Regions from separate parts of the Homo sapiens genome. Here region 1 is linked to region 2. The links are contacts of gene promoters, found by promoter capture Hi-C in blood cells and fetal thymus (Javierre and others, 2016). All regions are on one chromosome and are shown on one strand. Each heading gives the region's core, a stretch centred on a gene start or on the middle of the fragment in contact. The rest is flanking DNA. Distances are from core to core; before and after follow the strand shown.

Evidence for each region. The method cuts DNA at HindIII sites, captures the fragments that hold promoters and counts their contacts. A CHiCAGO score of 5 or more calls a contact.
Region 1: a contact is called between a fragment that was not itself captured here and the fragment with the promoter of NFS1 in region 2, in 1 of 17 cell types (endothelial precursors). The highest score is 5.9, in endothelial precursors.

Annotation. Positions count from the first base shown.
Region 1 is chr20:35,914,676-35,921,184 of GRCh38, forward strand. It overlaps PHF20 (PHD finger protein 20), which reads left to right. Exons shown (of 18, transcript NM_016436.5): 13 at 2,809-2,987. Among named protein-coding and RNA genes, the nearest start is that of SCAND1, 37 kb to the right of the region's middle. The HindIII fragment of the contact is 8,181 bases long and covers 1-6,509 here.
Region 2 is chr20:35,695,267-35,702,793 of GRCh38, forward strand. NFS1 (NFS1 cysteine desulfurase) reads right to left here and starts at 4,086. Exons shown (of 13, transcript NM_021100.5): 1 at 3,926-4,086; 2 at 3,215-3,324; 3 at 2,418-2,534; 4 at 1,111-1,194. The coding sequence starts at 4,022. It overlaps ROMO1 (reactive oxygen species modulator 1), which reads left to right and starts at 4,139. Exons shown (of 3, transcript NM_080748.3): 1 at 4,139-4,190; 2 at 4,367-4,497; 3 at 5,532-5,714. The coding sequence starts at 4,367. The coding sequence ends at 5,640. RBM39 (RNA binding motif protein 39) reads right to left here. Exons shown (of 17, transcript NM_184234.3): 17 at 6,081-7,527. RefSeq lists enhancers at 3,653-4,312, 4,313-4,972, 4,544-4,763 and a silencer at 3,864-4,053. The HindIII fragment of the contact is 3,611 bases long and covers 3,201-6,811 here.

The sequences.
Region 1 (6,509 bases), core at 2,694-5,193, 220 kb after region 2:
AATTGGTGGCCAGGCGCGGTGGCTCACACTTGTAATCCCTACACTTTGTGAGGTGAGGCAGGTGGGTCACTTGAGCCCAGAAGTTTGAGACCAGCCTGGCCAACATGGTGAAACCCATCTCTGCAAAAATACAAAAACTTAGCCAGGCGTGGTGGTGTCTGCCTTGTAATCCCAGCTACTCGGGAGGTTGAGGCAGGAGAATCGTTTGAATCTGGGAGGCAGAGGTTGCAGCGAGCCAAGATCATGCCACTTCACTCCAGCCTGGGTGACAAAGCCAGACTCCGTCTCAAAAAAAAAAAAAAAACAGTAAAATATGTTATATATATACATATACATATATATATGTATATATGTAAAAAAAAAGGTAAAATGTTTTATATATATATATATAGATATACACACACTTACACACATATATATATGTGCTCAACCTAATATGGGCCCTGGAAGGGAGGCACCCACTCACCCAGGTGTTACAAAGTCCTGCTGGCATTGAAAAGCCTTCTCACTTGCTGCATTGGCCAGTGTGTCCTGCTACAGGATGGTACATATGAAGGCATTGAAGTGTAAGTGGATGTGCAGGTGAATGATGGTATTTGTTCACACACACGACTCTTAAAACATATCTTTGAGCCCTCTTGAGAAAGGGTTTATATATATAATTTATATTTTAAAATATATATATATATTTTGTTTTGTTTTGTTTTGTTTTGCTTTGTTTTTGTTTTTGAGACAGAGTCTCACTCTGTTGCCCAGGCTGGAGTGCAGTGGCGCGATCTTGGCTCACTGCAACCTCTGCCTCCTGGATTCAAGCAATTCTCCTGTCTCAACCTCCCAAGTTGCTGGGATTACAGGTGTACGCCACCACGCCTGGCTAATTTTTGTATTTTTAGTATACACAGGGTTTCACCATGTTGGTCAGGCTGGTCTTGAACTCCTGACCTTGTGATCCACCCACTTCGACCTCCCAAAGTGCTGGGATTACAGGCATGAGCCACCGTGCCTGGACTGTTACATTTCTTAAAACTTTCTTTGAAATAAAATTAGTTTAGTTATTCCATATGTCCTGAAAAATGTGACATATGTGTTCATTAGATCAATCTTGTTTTGATGTAATGTTCAAAAATTTGAACTAGCAATACATTTCATTATGTTAACTGACAATTTAAAAAATGAAAGCTGGGTGCAATGTCCCACACCTGTAATCCCAACACTCTGGGAGGCTGAGGCGGGTGGATTGCTTGACCCCAGAAGTTCAAGACCAGCCTGGGCAACATGGCAAACCTTGCCTCTACAAAAAATACAAAAAAAGTTAGCCGGTTGTTGTGGCATGCACCTGTAATCTCAGCTACTTAGGAGGCTCAGGTGGGAGGAACACCTCAGCCCAGGAGGTCAAGGCTGCAGTGAGCTGTGATCATGCCACTGCACTCTGGGAGAAAGAATGAGACCCTGTCTCAAAAATAAGTAAATAAAATAAAAATAATAAAAAGTAAAACAATATTTTATTGCTTAAAAATGCTGACAGACACAAAGTATTTGCTTTTGCAATAATGGTGTCAGTAGACTTTCAGGGTTGCTGCCACACACCTTCAATTTGTAAAATAATATACAATATCTGTGAAGTGCAATAAAATATTAATAGTTATGCCTGACTTAGAACAGTATCTGCTTCAGAACAAGCGCTTAGTAAAAGTTAGCTGTGATTATAACTAATCAGGCATCAAGTGATTCTGCCTCTGATTATCCCTGGAATCTTCCTCTTCCTCATTCCTCACTGTCTATAGAGTTTTTGTTTTTGATTTTTGTTTTTGAGACGGAGTCTCACTCTGTCACCCAGGCTGGAGTGCAGTGGCGTGATCTTGGCTCACTGCAACCTCTGCCTCCTGGGTTCAAGTGATTCTCCTGCCTCAGCCTCCCCATAGCTGGGATTACAGGCGCACACCACCACACCTAGCTAATTTTTTTGTATTTTTAGTAGAGACAGGGTTTCACCACGTTGGCCAGGCTGGTCTCAAATCCTAGGCTCAAGTGATCGGCCCACCTTGGCCTCCTAAAGTGCTGGGATTACAGGCGTGAGCCACTGTGCCCAGCCTGTTTGTCTTTTGAGACAAAGTCTCACGCTGTCACCCAGGATGGAGTGCAGTGGTGTGATCATAGCTCACTGCAGCCTCAAACTCGCAGGCTCAAGGGATCCTCCTGCCTCAGCCTCCTCAGTAGCTGGGACTGTAGACGTGCATCACCGTGCCCAGCTAATTTTTTTTTTCTTTTAGTGGAGATGGGGTTTTGCCATGTTGCCCAGGCTTGACTTGAACTCTTGAGTGCAAGCAATCCTCCTCCTTCGGCCTCCCAAAATGCTGGTATTAGAGGCATGAACCACCATGCTCAGCCTTTGTTTACAGAGTTTTAAAGGTAGCTCTGGATACAGACAGACTGTAAGCCAGGTCCTGACTGGATGGAGTGAGGCTGAAGAACATGTTAGAGTTGTCAGGGATGGTGGCCTGTGTGGTTCATGGGGAGTTGTAGCTCCTCTGCCACTGAGTTCTATGATCTTGAGTAGCCACTGCCGTTGGGCTTCATTCTCTCAGTGAAATGAGGAAGTGGAGTTGAGTTCACTGCCAGGCAGCATGCTTCGTTTGGGCTGTTACTAAATGACAGATCCAAGGACAGATTGGCATCCTCGTTTCCTTGCCCTATGAATGTTCTTGTTTGGAGGTATGGGACTATAATGTCATTTTTCATTCTTGACAATCAAAGGTTTTTTAATTTTATAACCTAAAATAGTAACTGTTGTTTTCCCTTTCCTCGTAGAGGAGGATAATTTGAGTGAGTCCTCTTCTGAGAGCTTTCTCTGGAGTGATGATGAGTATGGCCAAGATGTGGATGTGACCACCAACCCAGATGAGGAACTTGATGGGGATGACCGCTATGACTTCGAGGTGGTCCGCTGCATCTGTGAGGTCCAGGAGGAAAATGACTTCATGATTCAGGTAGGCAGAGCTTCCAGGAAACAGGTCTAGAGAAGCACAAACTGGTCCTTGGAGGGAATTTTGAGGCCAGCAACAATGGCAAGTCATAGCAGAGCCCCAGAAACACAGCACGAACGGCAGCAGACTGAGCTTCTCTTTTTCGTTTGGCTTCCTCAGAGTTCCAGGCTGCCATACATAGTCCATTGATGGAGTAAGAGAGGACTTTAGGGATCACTGAGTCTAAACCTCTCATGCTCTGCTTGAGGCAGCTGGGACCCGCAAATGGGAAGGGCCTTGCCTGTGGTCACAAAGTGAGGAGTTGAACAGCAGGGACTGAAATCTTTGGAGTGGCAGTTTAATCTTCCCATGGACTCTTATCTTCTCTTTGAGGTAAATTTTCTTTAAGATCCAAAGTCATGCAGGCTGGCTTTATAACTTCTATGTTTCTTTTTCTTTATTTTCCTGACATTTGAGTCTGTCATCTTCATCTCTGAGATGTGCCTGTGGTGGGTGGGACCTCCTTACCTGCTTGGGGAAACCATGCCTGGCCAGCACCTGCCTGCCCTGTCCCTTGTCTGTAAATTGCAGTTCTGGGAGAGGTGGCGCTGGCTGGCTGGCTCCTAAGGGTGTCACAAGTTCCCTGGGTGTCTTGACAGCTGCCCAACTGGCTTGGGAAGCTGAGTTTTTAAAAGTCATGGTTATATTGGTTAGGATTTTTTTTTAGGGGCAAGTACAAATATTGTTGGGAAAATAGACTGGGTCCTAGGGCTCAGAGGCAGGGCTGCTTTCAGGCTCAGAACCTGGAATTCCATCTTGAGGGCCTTGGTCTGCCTTGTTTCCTGCTTCTCTGGAGTCCTTTTGGTTCTTTTTTATTTTATTCCTTGCTTATTTTCTTGGAAAATGCAAAATGGCCACCTTTGGCCTCGCCCCAATTTTACATTTTTGTGTTCAAGAGGCTAGGTAGACCAAGGTCAGAATCTTAGTCCCAGTTCTAAATTTCTGAGTAAGTAATTCCAGCCAAATTTAGATCAGATATTAGTTTTTGGAACAGTCACCTGTGGCCAGAGGGGAAAGAGGTTTGTTATGGATCAAATGCTCTCCCCTGGTCTAGTTGTCTGATCTGGTGGTAGTAGAGCTTACAGATTATCGACAGGGGCAAAAAGACTGCCTGGGGCCCACCTGTGTTATATTATAGCGTTAATGGGGGTTCAGGGATTGTTCCCAGTAAAGGGGGTGGCTGCCCATTGTCCAATAAGAATCTGTATAGCCTATTGAGATTATGAGAAACAGGCCCAGCCCCTTTGGCTTGCTTTCTGTGATAGAATATTATTTCCTTGCCCTTTCAGTACTGTAGGTTGGCATGGCATGGGTTTGGTTTTTTTTTTCTTTTTGAGACGGAGTTTTGCACTTGTTTCCCAGGCTGGAGTGCAATGGCGCGATTTCGGCTCACCACCACCCTCTGCCTCCCAGGTTCAAGCGATTCGCCTGCCTCCACTGCCCGAGTAGCTGGGATTACAGGCATGTGCTACCACGCCCGGCTAATTTTTGTATTTTCAGTAGAGAAGCGGTTTCTCCATGTTGGTCAGGCTTGTCTGGAACTCCCGACCTCAGGTGATCCACCTGCCTTGGCCTCCCAAAGTATTGGGATTACAGGCGTGAGCCACCGCGCCTGGCAAAATATTTTTGTTATGGTAATTTTTTTTTTTTTTTTTTTTTGAGACGGAGTCTCCCTCTGTCACCCAGGCTGGAGTGCAATGGCGCAATCTCGGCTCACTGCAACCTCTGCCTCCCGGGTTCAAGCGATTCTCCTGCCTCAGCCCCCTGAGTAGCTGGGACTATAGGCGCCTGCCACCATGCCCGGCTAATTTTTGTATTTTTAGTAGAGACGGTGTTTCACCATATTGGCTAGGCTGGTCTTGAACTCTTGACCTTGTGATCTGCATGGCATGGATTTTTGAAATTCACTTTTGGATCTTGACTTAATATACAGTTACATTTTTTCCTCTCATCTTTGAATTTGTTGTCTTTATACTCAACAATCCCCTTTCCTTTTATTTCTTGAAACATTGGGACTTTTCCGTAGCTCTTTAAACTTTCAGAACAACTAGAGATGAGTAGATGTATTTGCTTTTTTGCCTTTTATTTTCCCAGGGCTTTTAGAAAACACTTTTATTTTGAAATAATTATAGATTCACAGGAGATTGTAAAGAGGTGTACAGGAGAGTCCCATGAATTCCTCTGCTGGTCTTCCTCCCATGGCAAAAGCCCATAAACCCACAGTAGGATATCAAAACTACAAAACCATTTGACATTGGCATAATCACTAGAGCTTATTCAGATTTTATCAGTGATATACACATACTCATTTGTGTGTGCATATAGCTCTGTGTGCTTTCATTACAAGTACAGCCTTGTGTAATCACTCCCGCAATCAAGGTACTGAGGTATACTAAGACCATGAGATTCCCTCCTGGTACCCATACTTTGTAGCCATACTTATCCCTAACCCTGGAAACACTAAACTGTTTCAACTGTCTATAATTATGTAATTTATGATTCTTGGTTAATGGAATCACGTGGTATGTATCTTTTTGAGAGAGGCCTTTTTTACTCTGTATAATATCCTTGAGATTCATCCATGTTGTTGTGTGTTTCAGTAGTCATTTATTCTTATTGTCCGGTAGTATTCCATGCTATGGATGTACCACAGTCGTGCTCTTTTTGTTAATAGAACTAAAGCAACTCTATGGAGCTAAGGTAACTGGGTACAGCTGAGTAGTGATTTAAAGTTTCTGGAGTGTTTTCAGAAATACCATCTCACCTCTAACAAGGCGATCTCAAGTCACTTATTTGGGAAAACAAAATTACGAAGATATGATTTCTTTCATTGTTGTAGAACCATTAAATAAGTCATCAGATTATGATTTGAACCCAGGGCACCCAGTCAAGTGCTCTTTCCCTATGCGGCCTTAGCTACGGGGATTTACATTTACAGTTGAGAAGTGAAACAAGAAAAATTTGTTTTTGAAACATAATAGTACCATCTAGCCTGGCTGACCAACCCTTCCCCAGCACCACCAGTGGACATGCGCATGTACATACACACATACATACCCACACTTTAGGCTGAGGGAGAGTCTTGTCTTTTTGAATAGCCTTCATAGTAACCTCTGGGATTCAAGGGTACCTGATATTTAAGACCTTTATTAAACCTTGGTTCAGTGGTTTTCAAACATTTTTGAATATCAGAACCCCTTTTCCTAATGGACTGTTTCATAGAACCCCAAAATGTGTAACAGGTAACAGCAATAGTTTTGAAAGTTCAAAATGGATAATCTTTACTTGTGAGGTCGGACATGTGAATGGTGGGCATATTCCCATGATTCTAATATGCTGTCAGAATTATGAGTGACAGACAGTTGCTGACTTGGAGCACTTCAGTGGCTCATTTGTTTTTCTCTATTTGGTTATACAACAGTGAGACAAGCGTGATGCACATGGCCATTGTCAGGGTGACTTTTCCTGAACAGCATGCTGTGTAGT
Region 2 (7,527 bases), core at 2,836-5,335:
ATCAGGCAGAGTGCTGATGACCCTGAAGCCCGTCCTAGGCCTCCTATATTCAGGCCAAGGTCAAAGAAACCAACACTGGCAGCACAGTTCAAAGACAAAGATGAGAGCAAGTGGAGCCAGAGTTCAAAGTACAGCAAGCCACAATTTCTCAGAGCCTTGGCATTTACTCACATAATCCTGGCAACCAGGCCCAGTGAAATCTGACTATGTTCTATGAAACACCAACGTGACTACTAAAAGTACCTTTTCCTTGCATTAGCACCAAAGATCTTCTATGTACCCAGGACAAAATGACTGATCCCAGAATGGGTGACCATGTGAATGCCTGCAGAGGGCACCACAAAGACAAGCACTTCAAAATGGAGATATCTAAAGAAACAGGAGGAACTTGTTGCAAATAGATCTGATCAGAAAGAAAAAGGAAGGCTGAGAGGAGGACAGCCCTGAAATCACATATATAACTTGTTGTTACTAGATAAAAAGAATGGAGAAAGGCCGGGTACGGTGGCTCACACCTGTAATCCCAGCACTTTGGGAGGTCGAGATGGGAGGATCATCAGGTCAAGAGATTGAGATCATCCTGGCCAATATGGTGAAACCCCATCTCTACTAAAAATATAAAAATTAGTTGGGCATGGTGGCGGGCACCTGTACTCCCAGCTACTCTGGAGGCTGAGGCAGGAGAATCACTTGAACCTGGGAGGTGGAGTTTGCAGTGAGCTGAGATTGCGCCACTGCACTCCAGCCTGGCGACAGAGTGAGACTATGTATCAAAAAAAAAAAGAAGAATGGAGAAAAGGTTCAATCACCATTATCCACTCTCTGAAGTAACTGCCAGACAAAAAAAAAACAAGTGGTTAATGGCCTGAGGGCCACCTCCTTTGCTATCCAACTGCCTCACTCAACTCAGACCAACAGCAGCAAAGACTTAAGAAAGAGTAGACTGCAAAGGGTTAAAGGAAGCAACAAATCAGAAAGACTGCAAGCCTTCTCTTCACAATGGGGTGGGGATGGATGGCTGCGAAATACATATACGAGTCCAAATGATGGAGGGACACTATCTCCTAGGTCAGGAAAGCCCACATACACCCTCTGGTTCCCTTCTCTTACCTTAATTGCTATGTTGTTGGATTCAGTAGCACCACTAGTAAAAATGATCTCACGAGGATCAGCTCCAATCAGAGATGCTACTTGCTGCAAGCCAAGAAACAGAGATATATAACATCAGTTCCCCAGGCAGAAATAGAGCTGCAGACACAGGTGGGACAGCCCTGGAGCAAGAAGAGCTCCACTGCATTCCACCAAATTGCCCTGGATGAAGGTCTGCACCTACAAGAATCAGATTCTAGTTATATCCCAGATCCCAGGCTCTTTTCCAGCCCAATGCAAAATAATAACTTTTTTTTTTTAATGAACTATTGGCCAGGTGTGGTGGGTCACTCCTGTAACCCCAGCACTTTGGGAGGCCGAGGTGGAAAGATCACCTGAGGTCAGGAGTTCGAGACCAACCTGGCCAACATGGTGAAACTCCATTTCTACTAAGAATACAAAAATATTAGGCCGGGCATGGTGGCTCAAGCCTGTAATCCCAGCACTTTGGGAGGCTGAGGCAGGTGGATCACCTGAGGTCGGGAATTCAAGACCAGCCTGACCAACATGGAGAAACCCCGTCTCTACTAAAAATACAAATTTACCCGGGTGTGGTGGCGCATGCCTGTAATCCCAGCTACTTGGGAGGCTGAGGTAGGAGAACTGCTTGAACCCGGGAGGCAGAGGTTGCAGTGAGCCGAGATCGTGCCACTGCACTGCAGCCTGGGTAACAAGAGCAAAACTCTGTCTCAAATAATAGTAAATAAATAAATAAATAAAAATACAAAAATATTAGCTAGGCATGGTGGCGTGTGCCTGTAATCCCAATTACTTGGGAGGCTGAGGCAGCAGAATCACTTGAACCCGGGAGGCAGAGGTTGCAGTGAGCCAAGATCGTGCGCCACTGCACTCCAGTCTGGGCAACAAATGTGAAAACTCCATCTCATAAAAAAAAAAAAAAAGAACTATTGAGCTCTTACTATTTATAGTACTTCTTACTTACAGATGTTGTGGTAATAAACACTTTATCAGCATTGTCTTATTTAATCCACCCAGTAACCCTACAGAGTAGAAACTACCACAATCTCTGTTTTAAATGAGGAAAATAAGGCTCAAAGAAATTAGATAACTTGCCCAAGTCATTTAGCCAGGAAATATGGGAACCAATCAAATGCCTGCAGTCAAACTCCAAGGCTGCTCTTTGAATCTCTTCCAGAAAGAATCCAAAACCATTTCTACCTCCATGCACACCTACCAAGAAAGAAATGCCTCCCACAGGCCACTGCCCCTCTTTGACCTTAGAACCTCCTAGACTCCTGTGTACTAACCTGACGAGCACGTTCCATGGCTGCCTCACTCTCCCAGCCATAAGCATGTGTCCGGGAGTGTGGGTTCCCATAGTAGTTGATTAGGTAAGGGAGCATGGCATCAAGCACCCGGGGGTCCTGAACACAACAGAACAGATCATTTTCCTTGAGCGCATCGTCAATTCAGGTCCCACTCCACCCCTCAGACCTGGCCACCCTGCCTTAAGACACTCTCAACCCCTCAGGCACTGCCTAGAGGAGGCCTCAAACATTCTTTTGTTCCCACAAAACTACCCACCAAATATCAACCTAATACACTCCCACTCACAACCCATCCCAACTCGGATTGTTCTGCCTCCCCTCAGGTAGTCTACAAACACTGCCTTGTTCCGACATCTGTTTCTGCTGGTGTTTCCATTCCTGCCAGGTAATGTGATCTATAAGGGGCTGGGACAGGACAGGGCCTAGGCAAACACCCCTGGTCACACATTGGTGAAAACTTGCATTAGTCTTTTAACCCGTTTAATACTTGTCCAAGTTCACACAGTTACTAAGTGGCCGTTCTGCTCATTCCAGAGCCCATGCTTTTAACTAATACTATAGAGCCTGCGCTGAAGTGATCTGACCAAGGTCAATTGCTAGTGAGTAGTAAAGCCAATGCCAGTGGCCTCGAATTTAAGCCTCCCGACTCCTCGCTCAGTGCTTTTTCCAGCACACCTTCACGGCTCTCACTTCTCCAGGGATTCAGCCATTTCTTTGCGTGATCACGCCCATCATTTACTTCCTATAAGCAGCCTTGGGAAAAGCTTCATCCTTACCAGAGGAGTTGTAGCTTGCACATCCATATAGAGAGGTCGCAGCACTGGCCCCACCTCCGGGGCAGCGGCTGTATCTGCGGGAACCGCAGACTGAGGAGCACGGTCTCCAACTGATAAAAAATGGAACGGAGTAGCCAAGTAAGACCGAAGGCAACTATGAACGCATGGCATCCAAAGGGCAGAAGGAAAAATCTGGCTGGAGGTGAGATAAGTGTAAGGGATGCTAGGGTCGAATCTCAATGGAAAGAAAACAACACCAGATACCTGACACGCTGTAAAAGGAGGTAAGGGAGAGGGAGAGAGGGTTCCTGGAGGGGGTGTTGAGTTGATATTCAAATGGTATCGTAGGAAGGAAGGCTCTAAAGGGCAAAGACGTTTAGAAGGAACGTGGAGCCAGAGTAGGTGCAGTCCCTTCTGACCGAAGGTAACGGTCTGCACGGGAGCCCGGAGCAGCATCTGTAACTTGGCCAGGAGCGGTCTGAAGGACGCGCCTCCACGGCTCTGGGGGCCTGTCGCGCAGGGTGCGAGGGGTGGTGCGCCGGGGTCAACCGTTCGGGGACCCGCCTAAGAAAGTTTGAGGGATGTGTCATTTGAGAGAAGGGTCAGAGGGTCTGGGCAGCAGGGTGGACAGGAAGGCTCCGGAATATTCAGTTGCGTCGCCGCGCGGAGGGGACAGGTCCGCGCCTCCCGGAGAGCGGGACCCGAGCGTACCGCGCAGGCGCAGCCCCCGAGTGGGCGCCGCGGGCTTCGGCCCTGGAGCCGCTGTCACCGCCACTGCCGCCCGCCTCCAAGCGGCTCGGAGCAGCATGGTCCCGCTGGCAGAGCCCACCTTCCGAAGCCGCTGCAGTCCTGGGCCCCAGGCTCCCGGAAGTGCTGCCCGGCGCTCCGGAAGCGATTCATCGGGCCGCGAGCGCCCTCCCCGTCGTTTTCCGTGAGAGACGTAGAGCTGAGCGACCCAGCCCGCGAGCGAGGTGAGGTAGGCGCCGGGCGACGCGGGGCCGGAACGCGAAGAGGGTGGTGGAGTCGGGCTACCCACTGATTTTCCTTCCCTTACTTCCCCTGAGCCCTTGGGCCCACTTCCCAGCCTACCGCTTCCGTCCCCGCCCGACTCTTGGGCCAGCGCCTGGGCCCACACTTTCCTATCCCCCGCAGATGCCGGTGGCCGTGGGTCCCTACGGACAGTCCCAGCCAAGCTGCTTCGACCGTGTCAAAATGGGCTTCGTGATGGGTTGCGCCGTGGGCATGGCGGCCGGGGCGCTCTTCGGCACCTTTTCCTGTCTCAGGTGAGGGGCGCGGGCGGTGATCTCTGGGCAGGACAACCAGACCTTCCGGCCCTGCCCCATTCGGCCTGGAGCCTGAACACAGCCTCCTTCTTTCGACTTCCCTCTCTGTCCCCTCGCGAGCCAGACTCATTCCAAACCACCTTCAATCTGTAAAGTCAGGTTGGAAGCGTCAGTGCTTAAGAATTTGAGCTTTAGAGTCAAAATGCTTTCTGGCCCTTTTCTTACTGGTTCGGTGACTTTAGGCAAGTTGGAGACTGGGTTTCCTTAAGTGTAGAATGAAGACAGTAGCATCTAACTTATAGAGTTGTAAAAATTCGATCAGCACACTTTGCACAGCATCTGGCACATATTAAGTGCTCAGTAACTAGTTACTACTGTTGCTTTTATTTTTTTTTCCAATTGCGCATAAGGAAAGAAACTCGTTCAGCGGTTTTACTATTCTGGATACAGGATACAGAGATAAAGCAGTTAAACTTTACACTCTAAAGGTCATTTTCACATTTAGAGGCTGTTATTGCCATATCCCTAGATTGTAAATTATCATTTACAGAGCACTTACTCTATGTTAAGCACTGTGCTAAATACTGTAGTTTTCAAAATCCTGTAAATAATGTTGAGATGCCCATTTTACACTTGACACTATGTGTAAATTGTAGAGCTGACTCTTGAACCCCCACCTTACTCCAAAATCATTAACACCAAGAAACTAAAAGACAGATGTCTTTATTGGGTCTTAAACTGCAGGCAACACCAGTCAAAAAAGCTGGTTTCTCTATGTATTTTACACTGCATCTGCTGCCTCCCACAAACTGAAGGCAGTTAATACGACATCCACCAGAAAAATACCCTGGAGACCCAGATGGATCTTTTTCCTTCTCATTACCCACCCCAGGTAGTAAGATATAATATCCAGTAAGTGGAAAATCAGATGTAGGGGTTGCTAGACTAGTGTTAGCAAAAAATTGGAAAGGAGCAGTTAATACTCTTTCTGATATTTTTGTTACCAAATAGCTCCATCTTGGTTTCCTCCTCAGGATCGGAATGCGGGGTCGAGAGCTGATGGGCGGCATTGGGAAAACCATGATGCAGAGTGGCGGCACCTTTGGCACATTCATGGCCATTGGGATGGGCATCCGATGCTAACCATGGTTGCCAACTACATCTGTCCCTTCCCATCAATCCCAGCCCATGTACTAATAAAAGAAAGTCTTTGAGTAGTCAGTGTCCCTCTCTTAAAGGAATATTCTTCTCTCAGCCTATTATCCAGCTTTGCCAAGGATCTTCTGCACTAAAGAGATGGACTAACGTAATGACTAGGGTTAGTATCTCTTTCACAAGGCCTGCCTCTCTTAATCCAAAATTGGAAAACTTGGGAGTGTCTAGTATTTTCCATAGATACTATTCAACTAATTACTCAGTACAACTCTGTGCTTGTTACTACGGTCACCATTTTAAAGGAGAAAAACTACTTCAAAAAATGGATTTATAAGCCGAAATTTCCTCAAGGTCACACATTGCATTATTTCCAAAGCAATGTTCATCCTGAGGTTGGTTGTTTCCTTGGTCGCCCAGGTTGGAGTGCAGTGGCACGATCTCGGCTTACCGCAACTTCTGCCTCCTGTGTTCAAGCGTTTCTCCTGCCTCAGCCTCCCGAGTAGCTGTGATAACAGGCACGTGCCACCATGCCTAGCTAAATTTTGTATTGTTAGGCTGGGCGCGGTGGCTTATGCCTGTAATCCCAGCACTTTGGGAGGCAAAGGCTGGTGGATCACAAGGTCAGGAGATGGAGACCATCTTGGGTAACACGGTGACACCCCGTCTCTACTAAAAATACAAAAACTTAAGCCGGGTGTGTTGACACGCGCCTGTATTCCCAGCTACTCGGGAGGCTGAGGCAGGAGAATCGCTTGAACCCAGAAGGTGGAGGTTGCAGTGAGCTGAGATCGAGCCATTGCACTCCAGCCTGGGCGACAGAGCGAGACTCTGTCTCAAAACAAAAAAAATTTGTATTCTTAGTAGAGACGGGGTTTCACTGTGTTGGCCAGGCTGGTCTCAAACTCTTGACCTCATGATCCACCCGCCTCCGCCTCCCAGTGTTCACATATACAGGCATAAGGCACCACGTCCAGCCCGAGGTTGTTATTTAGATATACCTAGTGGCTTTATCAGAAAAAGCAAAACAGTTCATCCACTGTAAAAAAAAATAGAAACTTCTGTAGCTTCTCAACTGGCTAAATTCCAGATGATTTTCTAACCACTCATCAACAATCTATATAGCTTGCCCTCCACAAAACTTACTAGTTTGATGATAAAAAGCTTCTGTAATGAGGCAGTTGTCCATCTCACCTGCCCAGGCCACGCAGACCCTGGAGTTACTAACCCGCATTGCCCATTAAGCATTTCTTAAACAGAACTTTCAAAGATGGTAGTAATTATTATAAAGATAAAAGAAAACTAGATGAACACTTTGGAACACTGACAGGCAGGAGGAAATTAAGGACATTACCAGATTAGTTACAGATTTTCGAACCAGTGGGATGCTGACTCAGGAACTGATTGGACATAAACAGTTTCACTCAGAATGAGCTGTTTTCTATGCACGACACTATTCAAGTTACTACACTCCAACCACATTTCCTCTGAACATTATTTACACACCAAATTTCACTCTGGTAGCAACTAAATTTTGGCACAGATGAGATTAACCACTAAAGGCCACATTTGCTGGTCCAGTTCCCTAGAAAGCAATGACACAACAAATTTGTTAGGAAGACTTGGTTCAAGGGGAAAAACTGATAGCAGGAGATACTTTGGAAAAAGAGCACACTGACAGAGTGTCTCTGCCCCAAAGAACTCTGCAGTCTGGTATTGAAAAGTAAATTTTCAATGAGGCTGGGCGCGGTGGCTCATGCCTGTAATCCCGGCACTTTGGGAGGCCAAGGCGGACAGATCACTTGAGGTCAGTGTGAGACCAGCCGGGCTAACACCGTCTCTGCTAAAAATACAAAAATTAGCTGGGCACGGTGGTGC